Regions from separate parts of the Homo sapiens genome. Here all the other regions are linked to region 2. The links are contacts of gene promoters, found by promoter capture Hi-C in blood cells and fetal thymus (Javierre and others, 2016). All regions are on one chromosome and are shown on one strand. Each heading gives the region's core, a stretch centred on a gene start or on the middle of the fragment in contact. The rest is flanking DNA. Distances are from core to core; before and after follow the strand shown. Region 1 holds the start of DCDC1 (doublecortin domain containing 1). Region 2 holds the start of QSER1 (glutamine and serine rich 1). Region 3 overlaps LOC105376622 (a long non-coding RNA gene).

Region 1 (3,124 bases), core at 4-2,503, 1.5 Mb after region 2:
ATTCCAGGTATAAGTGTACCGACAAGTATGGAAAACGTGTTAGGTATTTCACGATATATATTTATACTTTAATTAATGAACAGCATTAAAAAAAAGAATTTTATAATGAACCAGGTGGTGTATGAACCTCTAAGAAGGTATTTCTGCTAGTCTTATGATAAAACTGGCACACAAGTAAGCACCCACTAAACACGCTGGAGGAGCTTAATGAATATTTACAAAATGAACGAATAAAAAAAAAGCAAAACAGAACATCAAAGAATTAAAATAAATTTGGGGGCATTCCTTCTGAAAGTTTCTCGTTTGCTTTTCCTCCAGATTGTCTGGAGAGCATGATATGGGAAATAACGTCAGCACCAGCTGGTAGAGAACAAGAGTCCCCTGTTATTGGAGAGGCGCTGAGACCTCGCAAAGACAGAGTGAAACTCTCTACGCGAGGATGCCCCAGTCTTCCACGCTCCAGAAGAGAGACCCTACCAGGAGCCCCAGAAATCAGGCAACCTCTTCCCACAGCTATATACACTTAACGAAACAGCCGGGGCCTCCTCAAGCTCGGGACTTGGGAATCTTCTCCATTCACAGTCGGCTTTACCCACCCAGCCATTGGCGGGCACCCTCTCCGCGCTTTATACGACATCAGACCTACCTAACTTCACATAGGCGCTGCTACCCACTCCTCGCCTGCTGTCGGCCAGAACTCCGGACCGGCTTCTTCTTCCGCCGGAAGTCACTGTTCCGACGTGTTCGCGTTTCTGGCCGAGCTGATGTGGCCGTGGCACAGCTCAGAAGCGACGCTCCGCCCACCCCGACGCGGTCTCTATGGTAACCGGTCACCGCTTCTATGGAGTGGCGTTTACTACCAGTAAGTTCCCAAACTGTGAAGAAAGGCGCCTTTGGCTTCGCTCTAAGTCTCTCTTTTCCGGGCCCCGCGACTGTCGCTTCTCTCCTCCTCCTCAGCGAGCACCCCCTCGCCATCCCAGGCTTTCCCCGCCTTTTTCAAAGCTTCCTCCGTTTACCGTACCCTGAGCTACTCTCAATCTTTTCGGTTGGTGCTTGAACTCTGGGGTGAGAGAGGGGTGCGGGGGCAAGGATGTGAGAAGGATGAGGAGACCTGATGCCACTCTCGTCCCTACAGTTCCTTTACAATGTTCTAATTCGAAAATTAAAAGAACTAAAACCTATGCCAGGTAGGGCTAGATGTGCGGGGGATGGGGTCGGTTTAATTTTTTCTGCAGAAGATATTCGACGTAATTATTAATATTTCTTTTAGACCTTAGCAACCAACTTACAACATAAAAACGTTCCAAAATTCTTTCACATTTGCTATTTCACTTCGCTTTCATTTCAACCCAGTGAGACAAGTAAGGCAGGTGCCATTATTCCCACTTTATAGATGAGGAAAGAAATCAAGGATCAAGGCCAAACAGCTAGTTGGGTAGGGGCAGAACAAGGACTCAGCAAGTCTACACATTCCCAGGGCAGCTATGCTATCTTTCAAGCTTACAGAAAAAAGCAGAATGAACTGTTCTTCTTCGAAGCAGTTAGGGGGCACTGCATATGGGCACTGTTGGGGTTTGTTATTGTTGCTGGTGGTGGTGGTGGTGGTGGTGGTGGTGTTTTTCTCACCTTTCTTTCTTCTCCCTTTCTTGATTCCTGTGTTTCCTTTTATTACTTCTTTGTGCTGCTTACTTTACATTAACACCTCTTCCTAGCATTGTACCTGGAGATGAAAACTACATCTTATTTTTGGCCAGCATGACATAAATTTCACTTGGAGATGTTAAAATGGTTTTGTTGTTACTGCTTTGATTTTGCTTTCCTTCTTTTTTAAACTTCTACCAATCTGAGTTTGAGAAGCAGTCAAGATAAACTTAAGCAGAATAAATAAAATAATCTAATATGATCAGTTATTTAATGATGTTATGAACTATAAAGAATAACTGAATGAAACAAGCAAGTTTAAAAATCTAAAGATGAAAGCATAGATTAGGTTCTCCACAGGGTTTTGTCATGTTTAAAGGCAGATACAAAGAGCATCTGGTTTTAGTCCTGGCTGCATCATACTTTCTTGTGTGGCCTCATGAAAATACCTAAAGCAATGGAATTAAGTAGTGTGGTGAATGCTTTTCTAAACAGTACTGTCAGAATGATGCCACCTTGAACATCTCTAGCCCTCAAACTCCCTTCTGTCCACAGCTTGGTTCTTCCTTGTGTAGGTAGATATGCTCCGGTACTCCAGGTTTTTTGTTTTTTACAGCAAAAGCATTTTATTTTGATTTACTATTTATTAGGTTATTGTGTTACCTTATTTATTTATTGGGGTTTGGAAAGTAAGAAATAGTTTTTTTCCCCAGCAATACCAAATATTTTGTCATTTCATCTCTACATACTTTAGTTTGCATCCCTAAAATGTACCAACTTTTTCTTTTATCTCCATAATGTCATTATTGGACTGTCACATAATATCTAGACCTTACTTACATTTCCACGGTTAATTGAAAATGTCTTTTTCTGGTTGGTTTGCTTGACTCAGAATCAGACAAAATGTACACTTTCCATTTAGCTGTTCTGTCTCTTAAATATCTTTTAAATTATAGCAGTCCCATTTCTTCACTAGAACCTTGTTTTTTTCTTTACTTGCCATTGGCTTACTGAATGAGAACAGTTGTCTTACACTCTGCTTATACCAAAATAAACTTCTTAAAACAATTTTTACATAAATTTCTGATCATTAAGCTTCCTTCATTTTTCATTTTATAGAGCAGTACTTTCCAATAGAAATATAATGTAAGCCGTAAGTGCAAGCTACAAAATTAATTAATCTAAAAATTATTAAGGCGATACTTTACATTCTTTTCTCCTACTAAGTCTTCAAAAGCTGGTATGTATTGTGCCCGAACACACCTCAATTTGAACTAGCACATTTCAAATGCTCAGTAGCCACATGTGACTAGTGGCTACTGTATCCAGCAGGGCAGGTCTAGAGAATAAAGTCCTAACTCCTTAACCTAGCATTCAAGTTACCTCTTCAATATGATCCTTACTTTTCCAACCTCCCCTATTATCTCCATACATTAAACATTTAAACAATTGGATCTTTTCATGGTACTGAAATCAACCCAAC
Region 2 (2,788 bases), core at 82-2,581:
GAGATGGAGAAGCATGCTTTGGTTCTTCAACCTTTACGGCCTTCACTACCCCCACCCCAACCCCCGCCCCATTTCTTCCCAACTCTCAGTCACCCCGAGGCATAGAAGGCAAAGAAAGATTCCTTACTTCCTGCTGTTGTTAAAAGGGGAGGAAACCTAAGAGCAACTTTGAACGCGTGGAAGAAAAATCGCCTAAATCTTGGCCACCAGCGCAAACATATGTCACCCGGCCCTGGAGCCGCGTTCGCGCCCTGCCGGGCCCCCTCTTCTGCCCTGCGCCCCGGGGATTCTCCCGTAGCCCAGCCCTCCCGGGCCCCCCAGTGTCTCCGGGACGCGGTTCCGCGACTCTTCCTCTCCCGCCTCCGCAACCCTCACACGCCGGAGTCCCCAAGACCGCATTGTCGGCCACCCAGGTTCCAATACAATGGATCGCCACTGCCCCAAACTCTCCGGCGCCCCCTTCGGACCCCCGGCGCCAATCCTGGGTCTCACAGATCCCGAGTTCAGCCACGAGCCCAAACTTCACCATGTGAGAGCCCAGGACCCAAGAGGTGACGGAGCCCCACGACTCCCGCCCAGCTATTCCTTCACCCGCCGTCCCCAGGCGCGAATCCTGCACCGGGCGCCCCCACCTACCCGCGACCACCCCGTAGGAGTCATCAGCCGCCTCCCCCGAGCTGGCCGAGGGCGAGCGGAGGGCTCCCCGCCCGGCCCAGACCTCTGGGCGGCGCTGCAACCGAGCGAAGGCCCCAAACGCATCCCCGGCCTTTCCTGGTCCACCGCGACCCCGCCGCCCACCCTCCCTACCTGGCCTTGAGGCTGGGGCTGCTGCCGCTACTGCAGCTGCCACTGCTGCAGCTGCTGCTGGCGGCGGCGGCGGCGGCTCGGGGTTCGTACGCCCAGGCTGGGGCGGGGGGCTGCGCAGCGGCGCTGGCGGGGACGGGGGCGGCGGGGGGCGCGGGCGGCGGCGGCGGCGGCGGCTCGGTGAAGCCCGAGGTCGCGTAGTTCCTGTCCATCGTGGGGGTGGCGTAGGGAGGGCGGGCAGCAGCGGGGGATCCTCCAGGGCTCCGTGTGACGGGGGCGGGCAGGGAGAGGGGGCGGGGGAGGAAGAGGGGGCGGCGGCGGTGGAGGGAGCTGCCCCCTCACATGGCCCCGGCGAGCAGGCGGGAGAAGGGCGCGCTGGCGAGTCTGGGCCGCAAAGACCCGGGCCGCGGCGGGCGGCGAGGCCCCAGCTGGGCGTCAGGGAAGCGGAGGCACCCGCGGCCGGGACTCGCGGCGACGGCGGCGGCGGCGGCGGCCGCTGCGCCCCATGTTGGTGGATTTCCCAGGATGCACCTCCCGCCCCCCTCCGCCCCGCGGCCTTGCCCCGCCTCCCCTCTGAGCCCCGCGCTTGCCGCTCGCGGGGCTGGCGGGCGGCCGCGAGGCCTCCGCCACCGCAGGACGCTTCGCGAGGGACAGTTGGGGCCGAGAAGGCGCGGGTCCTGCGGGGCCCGGCCGACTTCAGGGACTCCGAGGGGCGCCCGCCAGCCGGAGCCCGCGAACCGCAGACTTCCCGCCTTCCGCAGCCCGGAAGGGAGCTGTCCGCACTCGCCGCGGCCCGCGTGGGAAGGGACCGCGCCTGGCTATCGCCCCGCGCGGGGGAGGGGAAGTGGAGTGGAACCCAGCGTAGGGCGCTGCTCAGGGGTAGCCGGGTCAACGCTTTGCTTGGAGCTCACTATTTGACCCTTCGGGTTATTTTGAGGGACTCCAGTACTCAGTTCCCTGATCGCGATTTCTTTCTCTGCGCCCCAATCCAGAAACAGCTGAGCGAGCTCTTTTGCAGTTCCGCTTACTCCCTCCCCAAAGCTTGCTGGGCTAGAGGACCCTTTTCCTGCTGTTAGGGGAGATTTATATTCAAAGAGATTCAAATTCAAACGTATTATTTTCCAATCCTCGCTGAAAGGGCCTTTCCCAAGGGCTCTTATTAACTGTCCCCACCCCCACCTTGGGGATTTTTCTCGCTCTGGGTTTCAGAATCTTCTATCCCAAGATAGATAACCACCTCTTCATTGATTAATCCAACTACCATCTGGATGACTTTAATTACAATAAATTTAAACTCACCATGCACTCTGATGTTGAGGGGTTTTGTTTGAGACTTGGAACTTCAGCAGGACTCTCTCCCCAAACATTTCCTATCTGATCTCCAAGCTGCTTGGTGTGCGGTAATTTAATGACTATTTGCGGTTCTTCTGTTGCATAGCAGAGTTGTATTTCTTGTAATAACTCACAAGTATTGAAACTAGGGAATCGTACAAATCATCGTTTGGCCCTTGGGCCATAAATTTAAAGGTTAAAATAACAGTAAAATTTCTATTTAATGACCACCTCCTTTTAAAAATCAATATTGGTTTAACACCTATTATGTGCTTAGCACAGAAATCTATCCCTCAAGATAAGCATAACATAAAGGTTTAAGCAAATCAGCCGTAGTGAAAGACCTAATAAACTTGATACGCTATCTCTGATGACCATTGAAAAAGTTTAAACTTTGGTAATAATCTGGTGTTGGATCTGCTATGCCTTGCGAGATTAATTTTGTTCTGGAAGATCCTGTTTTCCTCCTGGCGCCTACATCCTTTTGTTCCTATTCATTCCTTTTTGCAAGTCTTTCTGCACCTGTGATGCTTGGAGCCTGGTCCCCGGGTGGGGAAGCAAGGAAGTGAGTAGTCGTTATTTACACATGAATTCAAACGTGTAGGCACAGCGACTTTGCCAATTTTATGTTAATTACAAAATGCATTTACTG
Region 3 (3,060 bases), core at 102-2,601, 1.5 Mb before region 2:
GGGCTCCCGGTTATCAGCATCCTTCAGGCCGCCCTGGGACGCGGCCGTTGGTGGCCTGCCAGTTTTGCAGACGGAATACTTAGACCCTGCTGGGTGGGGCCTTGCGCTCCATAGCTATGCTTTCTCAGCTCTTAAAAAGTCAGCAATCCTGGGTTAAATTACTCTGTACAAAATTAAATTTTGCCATACGCTAATGTAAGTATTATTTGCAACCAAAGGATGGATGGATGCTTTTCTTTTTCTTTCTTAGCTCTTCTTAACTTATTCGTGGATTATCACTTACTAGACTAGTATACTAATTATTTAATATAAAAACACTCTGAAACGTTTATCTCCGTACAGATGGGTGTTGATTTCCTCCTTTACCAGAGAAAAACAACTTAACTTAGATGGGAAAAATGTATTCCCTTGTGATGGGAAAAATGTATTCAACTCTGGTACACTGCCAAATTGGCTTCTTTAAACACTGGAGAAATCTGCTTCCCCAAATTTTACCCCCAGGTAAGCAGGAATTTTGAAAAGCTTTGTGTCTTTAAAAAGCTATGTTGAAGAGTAAAATACTTAGTAATATATAGTACAATATTTAGTAAGTTACTGACTAGTTTGTCATTGTAATCAAAGAGTTTGAATGATTTCTACACCTCCTCAGGTGCTAGGATTTATCTTTAAGCACCTTAATATATATACATAGTATATACCATCATCTTCAAATTAAAAGTTATCAGCTTTTAATTTTTTCCAGTACAACTACATATAATGGGTGGATATATAATAGTGGAAACTTCACATGTTGTTCTTGATCTTACAAAAGTATGATAAGAATCTTGGGCATAAAAGTGGAACTTTAGCAGTTCATTGGAAAAGAAAGCCACAAATTGATCTTTAGCACCCTATACTTTTCCTATATTAAAAACAATTATAAAGATGCTGTTGGCTGTGTAATTTGGTGTCTTTTTCTACCTGCCCGATCCATACTGCCAAGACTGTAAACTCCATGTGGGTCAGGATCCTCCCATCCATAATTTATTGAGCACTTACTATATACCAGGGACTATTCTCAGCTTTTTGTATATTTGCTTAGTTAACCCTCCCAACAACCCTATGAGTTAGATACTAATATTATCTTCATTTTACAGATTAGGAAACAGAGGTATAGGGAGGTTAAATAACTTGCCCAAAGTTACACAGCTATTAAGGGATAGTCAGGATTCTAGCTTCAGCTGTTCATCTCCAAAGTCCACAGTTTGTTGAATAAATAAATGTTGAAATAATCGAGCAAATCATCTTCTTAACTAACCAACACAAATATCAACAAAATAAATAAGAGACCTGGAGTCATTTCTTAACCTTTATTCATTATATAAAAAAAAGCATGTTTTTTTTTCCTTTGTTTTTGTTACTATGGATTTGAATTCCTAAAGAATTATTTCTAGAGAAAGAAATGGAGAAACAAGACTGGTTTCTGATCTTGTCATATCTTGTATTTTAAAATAAAGGGCAGGCTTACAAGTAATGACAATAAATTTATAATGTTACATAGGAGGCTGGGTGCGGGGGCTCACGCCTGTAATCCCAGCACCTTGGGAGGCCGAGGCAGGCGGATCACTTGTGGCCAGAAGTTCGAGACCAGTCTGGCCAACATGGTAAAACCCCACCTCTGCTAAAAATACAAAAATTAGCTGGGCGTGGTGGCACACGCCTGTAGTCTCAGCTACTCAGGTGGCTGAGGCGAGAGAATCACTTGAACCCAAGAGGCGGAGGTTGCAGTGAGCCAAGATTGTGCCACTGCACTCCAGCCTGGGTGACAGAGTGAGGCTTCATCTCAAAAAAATTAAAAATTAAAAAAAGTCACATATTAGGTGGAAGTTCTATCGACTATAATTACAGCTTAAATGAAAACACTTCTTAAAATCAGCCCTAGTTAAAAAATACTTGAAACCAAACCAATACAATTACCTAAAGGTAATTGCAAGTGATTGGTTAGGTAAACAAATTGGGTTCTAGGTTTTAATATTTTAGTCATATGAATTCATGGGTATTTTTATTGATATAAATAAAAATGTTATTTTAAAAATGCTGTTCTCTGAAGTCAATTTTCAGAACTCAATGAAAATAAAATATACTGGCACAAGACATACTGTTATTAATCCTGGTATCAACAAATTTGAAACCAAGCTTGCAAAGTAGACCATGTAACAAATGTTCAAGAAAAACATTTGAGTACTCAGCTAGGAATCTTTATAGACAAATTTTATTTCATCAGTATTGCAAGAAAAGAATGGAGAGAATGAACATCATGTGTTGTTGGATGACAGGCATACAAGACAGCACAAGGGGTAATTACTCTGTTCTGATTCCACCCATCCTCAGAGAGGCCGAGAATGTTCTACATATTTCAGTTTCATTCTCTTCACAGTGGCCTTGTGAGGTAAATTCAGAGTTAGGCAAAAAGGAAGAGAAAAGAACACAACAAGAAACAAAGAGAGTTACAATTCAGTATTGGCTGTTGGCTTTAAGAGAAGAGAATAAACATCACCACAGCTCCATGACTCCTGTTCACTGTGGAACAGGCTTGAGCAAGCCAAAGAAGAAGGTGGGATTTGCTTTAAAAAGTAGCAGTGGTGTTATATGCAGTAGCAGCACATACCTTCTGCTCTGCCTATTTGGCTGCACCATATCTTTCCCGCTTTAATATGAATAATTGCCTACTTGGGAGGAGGCAACCCAGATGTCCTCTGGTGTCTGGTGATGGCCATAGCATGAGCTATGCTAAGGAGAAGAACATGGATGTGCCTTTTCCCGCCTCGGCCTTACGTGCCACGCTACTGATCTGGTGTTTGCAAAAAAAGGAAACATAGGCCAGGCCTGGTGGCTCATGCCTGTAATCCCAGCACTTTGGGAGGCCAAGACAGGTGGATCTCTTGAGGTCAGGAGTTCAAGACCAGCCTGGTCAACATGGCAAAACCCTGTCTCTGCTAAAAATACAAAAATTAGCTGGGCGTGGTGGCTCTTGCCTGTAGTCCCAGCTGCACGTGAGGCTGAGGCAGGAGAATCGCTTGA

The links. The method cuts DNA at HindIII sites, captures the fragments that hold promoters and counts their contacts. A CHiCAGO score of 5 or more calls a contact.
Region 1: a fragment that was not itself captured here is called in contact with the fragment with the promoter of QSER1 in region 2 in 1 of 17 cell types (non-activated CD4 T cells); the score reaches 5.0 in non-activated CD4 T cells.
Region 3: a contact is called between a fragment that was not itself captured here and the fragment with the promoter of QSER1 in region 2, in 1 of 17 cell types (naive CD8 T cells). The highest score is 5.4, in naive CD8 T cells.

Annotation. Positions count from the first base shown.
Region 1 is chr11:31,367,435-31,370,558 of GRCh38, reverse strand. It overlaps DCDC1 (doublecortin domain containing 1), which reads left to right and starts at 820. Exons shown (of 39, transcript NM_001387274.1): 1 at 820-862. DNAJC24 (DnaJ heat shock protein family (Hsp40) member C24) reads right to left here and starts at 699. Exons shown (of 5, transcript NM_181706.5): 1 at 647-699. RefSeq lists an enhancer at 407-886. The HindIII fragment of the contact is 497 bases long and covers 1,005-1,501 here.
Region 2 is chr11:32,891,354-32,894,141 of GRCh38, reverse strand. QSER1 (glutamine and serine rich 1) reads right to left here and starts at 1,331. Exons shown (of 13, transcript NM_001076786.3): 1 at 808-1,331. The coding sequence starts at 1,016. RefSeq lists silencers at 559-958, 1,039-1,658 and an enhancer at 2,406-2,788. The HindIII fragment of the contact is 2,155 bases long and covers 1-1,847 here.
Region 3 is chr11:34,435,606-34,438,665 of GRCh38, reverse strand. LOC105376622 (a long non-coding RNA gene) reads right to left here. Exons shown (of 3, transcript XR_931180.3): 3 at 2,344-2,420. Among named protein-coding and RNA genes, the nearest start is that of CAT, 1.8 kb to the left of the region's middle. The HindIII fragment of the contact is 1,653 bases long and covers 525-2,177 here.